Linked DNA regions of Homo sapiens: regions 2 and 3 are each linked to region 1. Evidence: promoter capture Hi-C in 16 types of primary human blood cells and fetal thymus (Javierre and others, 2016). All regions are on one chromosome and are shown on one strand. The core of a region is centred on a gene start or on the middle of the fragment in contact, and the rest is flanking DNA. Distances in the headings are between cores, read along the strand shown.

Region 1 (4,384 bases), core at 1,690-4,189:
TATGTTATTCCTTAAAAATCTGTGAATGAGTGACAGATCCTTATTTGACCTGTCATCAGAATCAATTTTTCTTTTATTAATATACTTCACTAATGAACAAAATCATGTACTATAGTTTACCTAGAAATAAAATGCCAAATAATTGCAAATAAAGGTTTTAAAAAGTATGTCACTTAAGGATCCGGACTTCTCCAAAATGAAGTAAATGTCCTTACATCTTTAGTACAAAAACTATCCCCACATTTTACATGACGTGGAAAACAGGATAAACATTGATGTCAAATGCCTGAGAACAACATTATATTTCACTGCTCCAGGACAGACAATTTTTCTGTGCTCTATTCCAGAAAGAGAAAAGGAGAAAAACGAAACAAAACAAAAAAACCTTGTAATGGTTGCAGTTTGTATTAACTTCAAAGCTGGTATTTCTTTCTCAAAGATCATTTTCTTTTTGTCTTTCAAAAAGCGGGGGGTTAGAGTAGGAAACCTCATAAAAATCAAACATTGAAGAATACGTTGTTGAGAAAGCACCTGCAAAGTATTTTCAGACCTTTTAAAAACGATGTAATTTGAATCACCTGTCTAAATAGGTCATTTAACTTAGAAAAATTAAAATTAGCTGTGCAGGGTCAATTCTTTTTCTACAGCATCTGCATGTGTGTGTCCTCTTCAAAGTCAAACCAGAGCTAAGTGTCAAGAACAGCCATAATACATGAATTTATTCCAAATCTTAGTTATTCTGCTTGAAATGGCCATAAAAGTTAACTTTATATATAAAAACATAGAGTGAGGAATTGCTAGAAAAAGTTGGGGATGGGGGTGCAGAAGGAGACGCAGAACTCCCCGTTCAGGAGATAATGGTATGTGTAAAGGAGGGAGTCTCTACTGCTGCTCATTTCTTGCTTTTCACATACACACTTTTACAATATATGGCAAATCAATATCAGGCGAGCCAAAACACAAAATAAATACTTTCACACAAGTGTAGTCTCCCACAAGCTTCTCTTTCCTTATCAAACTAGCAATATAGGACTATGAACCTTAACGCTATTGTCCAGCACCTTTAAGTATCTACTCATCCTACAACACTCTGTCAGGGATTGAATCCCTCTCCCCAGAAAACCTTCCCAGGAATAGAATAAACGACAAAATCTTGAAACATCTTAAAAATGAGAACAGTAAAAGAAAACGCAAATGAAAACTTTAGCTGCCTAAGATATTCAGTGCCCTTCTACAACCAGACCATCCATAAAATCAAAAGGACCTCAACAATGTTGGAACAGAAATGTGTCACGACCACTGGACCCTTGACTTTAGAAGGGAGGGCATCCAAGCTGGCTGGCAGAGAGGCAATCGCCATCAGGGGAAGTACAGCAAGGAGTCAGTTTTGTTTCAGGACTCTTCAAAGTCACCAGGAAATGTACCCCATCCTTTCTGGGTTAAAAGTAACTTTGATGCACAGAAAAAAAGTACTTTCATATCCTCCAGCTAGCAACAATTTATCATCCACAGGGAAAGAGTGATCGGAGATGCTAATGAAACATTCTCCTCTCTGCCTACTTCCCCAAAGCCACTTCCCAAAAATGAGATCTTGAGGAATCTTGATTTACTAAAGACTTCTGTTTAAAGATGAAATGGAAGGAACTTTGCACGGACAAGGAGGCAAACTGAAGACTTGACATTGAGGAATTGCGAAAGAATGTTCTAAGCTACATTCTTCTTACAAGGGGAAACCCAAAACAGAATTAAGATCTCTTCACCTCCGGATGGAGGAGTAAACATATTTAACTGCCCGGGATGGAAAGAAACAGTATCACTCCAGCCACCGCCCCCCGCCCCCTTTCCCAGGATCAATGACAGAAATAGTCCCAGCAGCGAGGGGCAGGGCAGGCTGGCTGCTCCTTCCACTATGACCTCTCCAAATCCGCTTTTCACTTCGCCCTGTCAGTCCCTCCTTAGTCCCTCAGCACGGAACCCCGGCCCCATCTCTCTAAGCGGCCACTTCTCCACCCACCATCCTTAGTTCTGAGCGGACTCGGCCCCACAACCGCCCTGCCTCCGGGGCGTCCCTCTGAGTGGGCGTCCCCCACACTTGGGAGGCTCACGAAAGCCCCGGGACGAGGCGCCAGCGCCGGGGCTGGGGAACCCCGGGGGTTCCGGCCTCGCTGGGCTCCCGCCCCCCACACCTCGACGCCTGAGCGGATTAGGCGGCTTGGCTCGCAGCGGCGCGCACAGCCCCCGTCCCTCCCACTCTGGCCCCTCCCCGGCTCGGGCGCCCCGGGGTCCTCCGCCTCCGCGGAGGTGAGCGCGCACTCACCGGAGGTGAGCTGCATCCAGGCACATATCTTGTACACAGTGGCCGTGTTGCAGAAGAAGAAGAGGGTAAAGCAAATGATGCAGGCAATGATGAGCATCATGGAGAGGCCGATAAAGAAGGAGGCGGCTTTGAAGGCGCCCGAGGGCAGCGTGGAGAAGTCCGTGAAGCTGCCCCTGCAGGTCAGCTCCCGGGAGAAGCCGTTGCCGATGCAGTAGTGGAAGAGCCCGAAATAGCCGGCTTGCGGGGTGTCCACGCCGTCGCCTATCCAGTAGGGCTGGATGAAGCACACCACGTTGACGATGGCAAAGCAGATGGTGAAGATGGCCCACAGCACGCCGATGGCCCGCGAGTTCCGCACATAGTTGGTGTGGTACAGCTTGGCAGCCTCCTGAGCCGGGAGCATCGCGGCGGCGGCGGCGGCGGCAGCGGCGGCGGCTCCGGGCATTCTCCCCCTCCTCCTCCTCCTCCTCCTCCTCCTGGTCCTCCGCCTCCCCCCGCCTCTCAGCGCGCAGGAGACACACTCACGGAGCCTCGCGCGCTGCAACTCCCCTGCCTCCGCCTCAGCCCAGCAGCACCAGTTTCAGAGTCTGCATCCTCGCTCCCGGAAGGAGGGCGGGGGAGCGCGGAGCACCCCTCCGGCTCGCCTGGCACAGCCTCCCGGCTCCCCTCCCTCCCTCCTGGCCCGGGCTCCGGCCCTCCTCACCACCCTCCACCCCTCTTCCCGCCGCCGCCGCTGCAGCTGCTGCAGCTGAAGGCGGCAAATCCCTCGTGGAGCACCGCGGCGCGCAAGCCCGGGGCGCCTCCCGCTCTGCTTCCCGCCTCCCTCCCCGCTGCCCGGCCCGCGCTGCCAGTGCCCAGGGGCGCAGAGGACAGTGACGACCCCGGAACGCCCATCAAGGGGTGGACATGAGCCAGAGAAGTGGGCCTGGATTAGGAGGGCGAGGGTAGTCTAAGAAGGTGGCAGGAGCACCCACAGGGATCCTAGAGACAACCCCAGGATCCTGGTGGGTGTGAGAGGCCGGGCTCGAGAGGCTGATTCAGCGAGCATTTCATCACCGCACAGAAACGTGCTTCGACCTCTGCATCTTTGCAGAGGCACGAGGGGCAGCGCGGCAATTGCAGGCAAGAGGCGCCAAGGCAGTGGAGGCATACAGCCCCCAAGAGTCTTTCTTGTTACCACAGAACTGCCCCTGGCTAACTCCTCGGTTGCCTTCAGGTCCACAGGTGGAGATAGAAGTTGCGCAGGAGCCTGGCAGACAATAATGTAAAAGACAAATCTCAAGGGTGGTCTCACATCAAGCACAGCTGAGCTTGCGTCCTCTTTGCGTTTTTCCCCCAAGCAGCCAGCTGAACTGTAGCCAATGGATGCCCCATACTTTCCTTTAGGTCGTTTCCCCGATAATTCCTTCCATAGATTGGGCCTGTGTGTGCTTGGAAGGGACTGTGTCACAGAATTTTATAGTTTGTTTGAAAACAGGGTAGTTCGGCCAGTGTTACACTTACTATACAAATATTGACAGCTACTCTGTGCCCAGACGCTGAGCTGGGTGGTAAGGGTACAAAAAGACATAGCAGATGGTTAATTGTCCAGGAACTTCCATCTCCCCCTACAACCCAAAGCTAACCAGAGAGCTGTTTTCAGGCTAATTTATCCCGGAATTACCACTATAGAATTCCTTACATTTTCACATGGCATTGCTGTTGTACACCTGCCCTTCGTGCTGTTTCCTTAGCTTATGTTTTCCCTTTTAACAGTCTTTCTGTTGCTCTTTTAACAGTTTCTACTTTTCAAACTGCATTTCCCTATTTCCGTTGGTTTTTTTGTTTGTTTCCTTCTGATTCTGATATAAAGAAACATGTAACTGCCTCCCACCCCCAGCCATGAAACCAGAATGCTTAATTGTAGGAGTGGATTTTGGTAACAAATCGTTTTGAACCATATGATCACAGAATTTTCTGAGCATTTCTATCAGAGAGAATTCTGATAGAATTGGACCCTAAGTCTTACCTAATTGGCTATATCAACGGCTATTCTATGGTAGAAGGGTCATAACCTAAGTGATGAAA
Region 2 (4,090 bases), core at 1,444-3,943, 390 kb before region 1:
TAATTTGGACATGCTATTTCCTGACCAGGAGGGATAGTAAAGAATTAGTTTCAACTGGACTATTATCCAAAAATGGGTTTCTTATTAAAATGTCACCTAGGAAATTACTAACCTCCTTGCAGCTATGTATTTCTTCATTTTGGCAGCAAGCAGGTTTTTTGGAAGTATATCAGAGATCATCTTTTTTTTTTTTTTTTTTTTTTTTTTTTTGGAGACATAGTCTTGCTCTGTCGCCCAGGCTGGAGTGCAATGGTGCAATCTTGGCTCACTGCAACCTCTACCTCGCGGGTTCAAGCGATTCTCCTGTCTCAGCCTCTTAAGTAGCTGGGATTATAGGTGCCCACCGCCACACCCAACTAATTTTTGTATTTTTCGTAGAGACAGGGTTTCACCATGTTGGTCAGGCTGGTCTCAAACTCCTGACTTCAAGTGATCCACCCACCTCTGCCTCCCAAAGTGCTGGGATTACAGGCGTGAGCCACTGCACTGGGCTGAGAGAACATTCTTGAATGCTAAAGAGAAACGAGAGCTCACAAGCTGGAGGTGAGCAGAGAAGTGATGAAAAGAAACCATGCCATGATATCTTCTGACACAGAGTAAACAACAAAAGCTTCTTTGTGAGGATATCACCGATGATTTCAATTTTAGGTATCTTCCAAATGTTTAAGAAACATTTACATTCTGAAAGGAATCTCTGTGTAGAGGCTACTGATGCCCACAAAGGGCTCTTCTGAAATAGTACACAAATGGCTAGTGGTTCCCCAGAGCCACTAATTGCTCTGGCATTTTTCTTGCTAAAGAGCTGAATGTAACCTCTATGGAGGAAACATCCTTAGAAAAATCCACAAACCTTTGTAATTGGGTCTTTCTTCAAAGGAAAATGAAGCAAAATGAAAAAAGCAATAGGGGGCCTATGACTTGGGTTACGTGGGCCTGCTGATACTGCTGGTCTGACTATCCCATTTGGGGCTTTTAACGTTGTGAACCTGAGAACTACTTATTTTTTTAACAGAAGGAGAAAGTCTAAATTCATTCTTTAAAAAGTCTATGCACTGTTGCACAAAAAAACTGATAAATTGCCTCATGTTGCTGAAGCACTCAAGGGGAACTTGGTGAAAAAAAGGAACCTGCATCCGCTTAGCTCTGTCAATTATTCAGGCATACAGTAGTTGAAGAAATTGATGCCAGCAGACACTGCCAGGCTATGGAGGGGGAACTTTCACACAAGGATTGTCACTCTTAACACCTGGTAAAAGAGATAGAAGGCTCATTCCTATCACTTCTTTATTGGCACGTGGCTGACAAACTTGAGCTATAATATTTATACCTCTAGAAAAAGTATAATATTTACACCTTGGTCTCTTCTGAAAACAGAGTCACTGGACAATCTAGGACATGAAATACTGTGGTTTAGAGTGTGGTGAAGAAAACACATTGTGTCCTGGTAAATTTTGGCTTTAAACACAGTGTAATTTTATGGGCATTTAACTTGGGGTCGTAACACAAAATATGTAACATCCCTTAGGGAGATAGAGGAGAAAAGAAAATATAAACACAGGGCTCTTAAAAGAGAAGAGTTAGAATGTTGTGTCTGATGATGAGAAAAGCCTCTCTGCTGTGCCAAAATACGTAGCTCCAGTTTGTTCAACTAAAAGGATCTGTATATACATCCACACATTGTGCGGTATCAGCTGTGAAACCTTGGACCTCGGCTGTAAGCAGATGATCTGGAGTCCGTCCACACCTGCATGTATGAACTATCTAGTTGATGGAGAAACACCTTTTATAGAATATGTTGCCAGACAAAAGGCAACATATTGAAATATGTTTCAGAAAAATAAATAACATCACTTGCTAATTTACCCAAATTTTAAGGGTTAATACCCAAATAAAATGAAAATCAGAATTTAGAACTTGAAAAATTAAAAGCAGTTCTGATCTCTAGAGCACCACTAGATGGCTTCTGATACATACCAAGGGTCCAGTCACATTCATTGAAATCCTGCTAATGGTATAGTTAATAATAATAATACACATCATAATAATAGCTAATATTTATTGAACATTTACCATGTATGGGGCACACTTTACAGGCATCATCTCATTTGATTCTCCAATAAAGCTAAGAGAAACATGAGAACACTTCTTCCTGACACCTTCAGTTTCTGCAAAGAGGAATTTTTCCTTAAATACTCTTGGCCCCTTATTCCACTTCTCATTCCTTTCCATGGCAGTGGAATGAGTTACCTGATGAGTGTCTGGGGAAGAGGAACTGGGAATACCTTTCCAACACTTTCCTTTCCCTACCTTAGGAGTAGTTTGTCCACGCAAAGCATGTGTTCTACTCCTCCATGCTATACATCCTACATCAGGCTGGCCTGATTTTTTTTTTTAATTATACTTTAAGTTCTAGGGTACATGTGCACAACGTGCAGGTTTGATACACAGGTATACATGTGCCATGTTGGTTTGGTGCACCCATCAACTCATCATTTACATCAGGTATTTCTCCTAATGCTATCCCTCCCCTAGCTCCCCCACTCCCCGACAGGCCCCAGTGTGTGATATTCCCTGCCCTGTGTCCAAGTGATCTCATTGTTCAGTTCCCACCTATGAGGGAGAGCATGCGGTGTTTGGTTTTCTGTCCTTGTGATAGTTTGCTGAGAATGATGGTTTTCAGCTTCATCCATGTCCCTGCAAGAGACATGAACTCATCCTTTTTTATGGCTGCATAGTATTCTATGCTGTATATGTGCCACATTTTCTTAATCCAGTCTATCACTGATGGACATTTGGGTTGGTTCCAAGTCTTTCCTATTGTGAATAGTGCCACAATAAATATACATGTGCATGTGTCTTTATAGTAGCATGATTTATAATCCTTTGGGTATATAACCAGTAATGGGATTGCTAGGTCAAATGGTAATTCTAGTTCTAGATCTTTGAGGAATCGTCACACTGTCTTCCTCAATGGTTGAACTAATTTACACTCCCACCAACAGTGTAAAAGCATTCCTATTTCTCCACATCCTCTCCAGCATCTGTTGTTTCCTGACTTTTTAATGATCGCCATTCTAACTGGCGTAAGATGGTATCTCATTGTGGTTTTGATTTGCATTTCTCTGATGACCAGTGATGATGAGCATTTTTTCATGTGTCTGTTGGCTGCATAGATGTCTTCTTTTGAGAAGTGTCTGCTCATATCCTTCGCCCACTTTTTGATGGGGTGTTTTTTTTCTTGTAAATTTTTTGGAGTTCATTGTAGATTCTGTATATTAGCCCTTTGTCAGATGAGTAGATTGCAAAATTTTTCTCCCATTCTGTAGGTTGACTGTTCACTCTGATGGTAGTTTCTTTTGCTGTGCAGAAGCTCTTTAGTTTAATTAGATCCCATTTGTCAATTTCGGTTTTTGTTGCCATTGCTTTTGGTGTTTTAGTCATGAAGTCCTTGCCCATGCCTACGTCCTGAATTGTATTGCCTAGGTTTTCTTCTAGGGTTTTTATGGTTTTAGGTCTAACATGTAAGTCTTTAATCCATCTTGAATTAATTTTTGTATAAGGTATAAGGAAGGGATTCAGTTTCAGCTTTCTACATATGGCTAGCCAGTTTTCCCAGCACCATTTATTAAATAGGGAATCCTTTCCCCATTTCTCATTTCTGTCAGGTTTGTCAAAGATCAGATGGTTGTAGATGTGTGGTGTTATTTCTGAAGCCTCTGTTCTGTTCCATTGGTCTATATATCTGTTTTGGTACCAGTACCATGCTGTTTTGGTTACTGTAGAAGGCAGGCCTGCTGAGATTAGGAAGATTCAGTATGTCTCATTCTAAGAGTGCAGACTAGTAAGTCCTTTTGGCTAATAGAGCCAGAGCCATGTTCTTCTGCCTAGGCTTTTTTGTAATAAAGGGGCTATTTTGGTTCCCATCTTCCTCCATCGCTCTCAGTTGGTTTGGAGGTCAGGTTCGGAAATAGGAGGCTGCCATTTGTTATTTCTCGACCAACCTTGACATTATTATTATTTTTTTACATGTGAGGGAACAGAGGCATACAAATGTCAAATACTTGCTCGAGGTCATACACGGTCCACAAAT
Region 3 (4,628 bases), core at 1,554-4,053, 510 kb before region 1:
TCATCATGGCGGCTCAACTAATGAGCTGAGATTTCATTTCATAAGCTTACTTATTATACTCGAAACATTAAAAAAAAGACAACCTTTATGTTTCTATTTGATTTATTCAAACTTGAATGAACTGTGGTCTCATTCATTTAGAATGTTAGAAAAACCATGAAAATGTTCTTCTGAGTATTTTTTATTTGGGTGATTTTCACTAAACCCTGGGAATTTGGGTTCTATAGTTTAATTTCCCACTTCCTAGGTAGTAGTAGATAATAGGTGGAATGCTGAGTATTGACTGATTTTCCTTCAAATGCATCACCTTCTGGATATTTGGTGTTCAGTGGGGGGAGGGTAGCAATAAAAAGGACAGAAATGAAAGAACCTGGGAGTGGTAGCTCCTGCCCGTAATCCCAGTACTTCAGGAGGCTGAGGTAGGAGGATCACTTGAGCTCAGGAGTTCAAGACCAGCCTAGGCAACAAGGCCCTGGTCTCTACAAAAAAAAAAAAAAAAAAAAAAAAAAAAAGGAAAAGAAAATTAGCATGGTGGCATGTGCCAGTAGTCCCAGCTACTCCGGAGGCTGAGGCTGAGGCTTGAACCTGAGGGTGTAATAGTCGCGATTGTGCCGCTGCACTCCAGCCTCGGTGACAGAGTGAGACCTTGTCTCAAAAGGAGAAAAAAAAAAAAAAAAAGAAAACCCACAAGAAAAGACAGAAAAAAGAAATGAGAATCTTCAAGAAAATGATTTTTAATTGAGAAGTCTTTCAGAGAAGGAATACAAGATAGTATTGTAATTTAGTGTTAGAGTCAAAGAAGTTTAGGGCTGGATGTGAACTTGGTAATTTTTCCAGTCCAAATGTTATAGATTTGTTTCCTAATCTATAAAATGAAGCAAACTGACTGGATAATAATGATAATATTAACATCATTAATAATTATACTTAATAATTATTGATTATAATTGTCAATTAATCTTAATATGTATAATTTTAATGATCAATTAATAATATTAATTATCCAGTCAACTTGCTTCATTTTGAGATTAGGAAACAAAAACTCAGAGGACAAGTGAGAGCCTGTTAGGGACAGACTTAGTGGTAGACCTCCTGACTCATGATCCAGGACCACCCCACCATACTGCTTCCCATTTTCAATAGAAAAACAAAGTTTTCTAAGCAATACACCCATCAGGTAATATGAGTAATATAGCCAACCTACCCTCTGAGTGCAGAGAGACTTAATATCTTCACAAGCAAGTGTTACAGGTGCGAGCCTCTGTGGACAGCCAGAAATGTTAATTTAATTTTTTTTCTTTCTTTTTTTTCTTTTTTTAAGGTAGAGTCTTGCTCTGTTGCCCAGGCTAGAGTGCAGTGGCACGATCTTGGCTCACTGGAACCTCCACTTCCTGGATTCAAATGACTCTTGTGCCTCAGCCTCCCAAGTAGCTGGGATTACAGGTGTTTGCCACCTTGCCTGGTTAATTTTTTGTATTTCTAGTAGAGAGGGGGGTTTTGCCATATTGGCCAGGCTGGTCTCGAACTCCTGACCTCAAGTGATCTGCCTGCCTCGGCCTCCGAATATGCTGAGATTACAGGCATGAGCCACCACGCTTGGCCCCCAAATTATTAATTTTATAATATAAAAGAAATTCAGGTTTCCAATCTGCCATATAGGTGGAAACCCTCAGGATCTCAGGAATGGAGTTCCATTGGCTGAAATGCACTTTATACACCTTAGCTGGCCTTGAAGGTTAGTTAAGCTCCCTGTTTTACAATCTTACCAATTTAACACTGCTATCCTGTCCTCCCTCTGGGGTGACAGGTGGCTAAAACCACATTTAGATTTTCCTCTGAGGGGAAATTTCTCTCTCCTTGACGGTCTCACTGTTCTGTGTCTCACAGCCTACTAGGAACCTGCAGGGAGCTCCCCTTGGGAGTGTCTCTTCTCTGCCTACCTGCTTTCATCTACTCTGGGGTCAGAATATTCTCTTTCTTTAAGAATTCATTCCCTGGTGGAAATGTAAGCATGCTAGAATTTATTCTGGGCTCTTACAGCATTGTTTCAGTTTTTGCTTTAGACATTATTAAAAGTGACTTTTAAAAACATGAAATGAGTTCTGGTATTAACTACATTATTTTGGTTAAAAAGATGAAGCAATGTTTCTCTGTACTTGCACATTCCAACACAGCAGTCCCTAGACACATGTGGTTATTTAAATTAATTAAAATAAAACACAAAAATTCAGTTCCTCAATTTCACTAGACACATTTCAAGCACTCAAAAGCCACATGTGTCTATGGTATGAAATTGGACAGAGCAGATAAAGAACATTTCCGTCACTGTTTTGCAAGACGGTGCTGCTTTATAACACCTATTATGCTTTAGTCAAATTTGAAAGCAAGCTCTGTACTTTGTTCTACAAGTCAGATTCTGGAAAAGATACAATGAAACATAAATATGTCAGCTACAGTCAAAACTCATCTGTAAAATAATTAATAAACAATACAGTTGGAATTCTGGGTGTCTTTATACTCAAGTCAGCCACATACAGCCTTATCACTTAATTTAGATTCTAATGAAATCAGACTTCATTTAAATGGAGATAGAGCTGACTTTCACTACAGTGGTAGCTCTTCTCAATGGAGGTGTATATGTAGGGTTAGGAGCAGAGATGGAAGTACACAGCAAAATGTATCAGAAACACCTGAGAACTTGCACAGAACTAGCCATTTCCTCCCTCCCCAGATAGATTAGAATTAGTTAGAGAGGGCAGGTGTGGCACAAAGGACTTCTGTCTTTTGAAAAAGTTCCTCAAATGGTTCTCATATATCTTTACCAGCCGTATCCCTCCAGTTGAGAACCAAAAGGATGGCTAATTGCAGGATGGCCAGGGTCATTGAGGTAAGTTATACCCGTAAGTCCTTATGTAGGTTAAGCTCTGATTACTGGAGCTGGTTTCATGAGCAATTCCATACTAAGTCTAAGTAGAGTGGGTAAGACTTCTGGTTAACAAGGTTATAATTGTTTGTTAATATAACATGTTTATATAGTTTCTGAAGGTTATATTGAAGGCATGCTAGCATTAAACATTTATTCGTTCAAGAATCACTTATTGAACGTCTAATAATGTCTATCAAACACCGTGATAAGTATTGTGGAATATGGTAAAATAAGTAAGCAATGGCACTGGAATGTGGCAGCTAAATTCCTGTGTGGGCTTTGAGTTAGACTGAGTTTAAAGTTGGCACTTTCTATAGGGTGCAGTGTATACTGCCCAGGTGATGGGTGCACCAAAATCTCACAAATCACCACTAAAGAACTTACTCATGTAACCAAACACCACCTGTTCCTCAATAACCTATGGAAATAAAAATAAAAAAAAATAAAGTTGGTGCTTTCTAGCTGTGTGTCCTCAGGTGAACTACTCAACCTCCTCAAGGCTCAGTTTCTTGCATTAAATTGGGGATAATGTTAGCACTTACTTTATGGGATTATTAATGAGGATTGAATAATATAAAATACACAGGGAAGATTTAGTACAATTTCGTGACTATAGCATTAAAGGGTATATAGTTTAGTGCGGAAGATAAACCTACTTAAGCTACACTCCTCCTCATTGCAGATGGCTGGTTCAATTGATAATGAAAAGGTGCTAAAGAAGTCAAAGGTGTAGGTATGATCCCTGTGTGGTCCAATCAGCTCTAGGGTAGATCAGACGTCTCTGCTCTTAGCCCAGCCATTCCACAAATGTGGCCAGCAGGGAATCAGGGTAATGGCACATGGACAATCAAACATGAGAGCTGAGAGTGATCCAGGATGAAGTCATCCAAGTTCCTTCCTTTAGAGACAAGTAGACTAAGTTGCAAAATCGAAGTACCTTGCCAAACTTTAAACACAACCCATCGGTGGCAGATATGAAGCCAGATCTCAGGGTTTCTGATTCCCTGCCCAATGTTCATTGTGCACACACTGAATATTTCCTAATGGAACGGAGATCTTCATCACCATGAAATATTAGAAAAGATCCTCATCTTACTATTATCTGGCCGTGGGATTATCTTCAAACACATTTTCATTAGCTTCAGAACCCAGATACAAGACTGGGTGTAATTTTCATTTGTCGTCAGAGATAAACTGACATCCTACAAGCCATGGCTCCTAGGAGCAACTCTGTGTAGACTAACAAACCAAAATAGTCAAATATTCTTGAGATCCAGTTTGTTGTACACCCCAAAAGTTAACCTGGCTCATCTCTGCTCAGCAGGGGTAAATCCTTCAGCTCTGGAATATCAGAATGGGTAGCAGAGCATAGTGAACTTATAAAAAACAGAGTGCCAGAATGTAGGACCCAACCTTCATGGCACCGTAGCCCTGATATGATCTTTCCTGGACTTCAATTCTCAGGGCAGATGGTCAACTTTTGCTTCCATCACTGCTTTCATCCTGTTACTTCCTAAGAGCACAAATGGTAAAAGAACAGTAGGCTTTTTAGATGAGAGTTTGATGGCATCTTGGTAGTTCTTCCTGCGTGGCTGCGTGGGCTAGCTTCTTCCAAAGACAATAAGTGCCTTAGCATATGGGGCCAGCACGCCCAGTGACAATAGAAGAAAGCAACAAGACAGCCACGGAGTACCTTTAAAAA

Evidence for each region. Contacts are between HindIII fragments. The CHiCAGO score rates a contact against its expected background, and 5 or more counts as called.
Region 2: a contact is called between a fragment that was not itself captured here and the fragment with the promoter of LHFPL3 in region 1, in 1 of 17 cell types (M2 macrophages). The highest score is 5.5, in M2 macrophages.
Region 3: a fragment that was not itself captured here is called in contact with the fragment with the promoter of LHFPL3 in region 1 in 1 of 17 cell types (endothelial precursors); the score reaches 5.0 in endothelial precursors.

Annotation. Positions count from the first base shown.
Region 1 is chr7:104,327,158-104,331,541 of GRCh38, reverse strand. It overlaps LHFPL3 (LHFPL tetraspan subfamily member 3), which reads right to left and starts at 2,939. Exons shown (of 3, transcript NM_199000.3): 1 at 2,318-2,939. The coding sequence starts at 2,762. The HindIII fragment of the contact is 14,292 bases long and covers 1,002-4,384 here.
Region 2 is chr7:104,719,843-104,723,932 of GRCh38, reverse strand. The region is part of intron 1 of LHFPL3 (LHFPL tetraspan subfamily member 3); the gene reads right to left. Among named protein-coding and RNA genes, the nearest start is that of LHFPL3-AS1, 82 kb to the left of the region's middle. The HindIII fragment of the contact is 4,162 bases long and covers 613-4,090 here.
Region 3 is chr7:104,836,359-104,840,986 of GRCh38, reverse strand. All of the region lies in intron 2 of LHFPL3 (LHFPL tetraspan subfamily member 3), which reads right to left. Among named protein-coding and RNA genes, the nearest start is that of LHFPL3-AS1, 35 kb to the right of the region's middle. The HindIII fragment of the contact is 5,511 bases long and covers 48-4,628 here.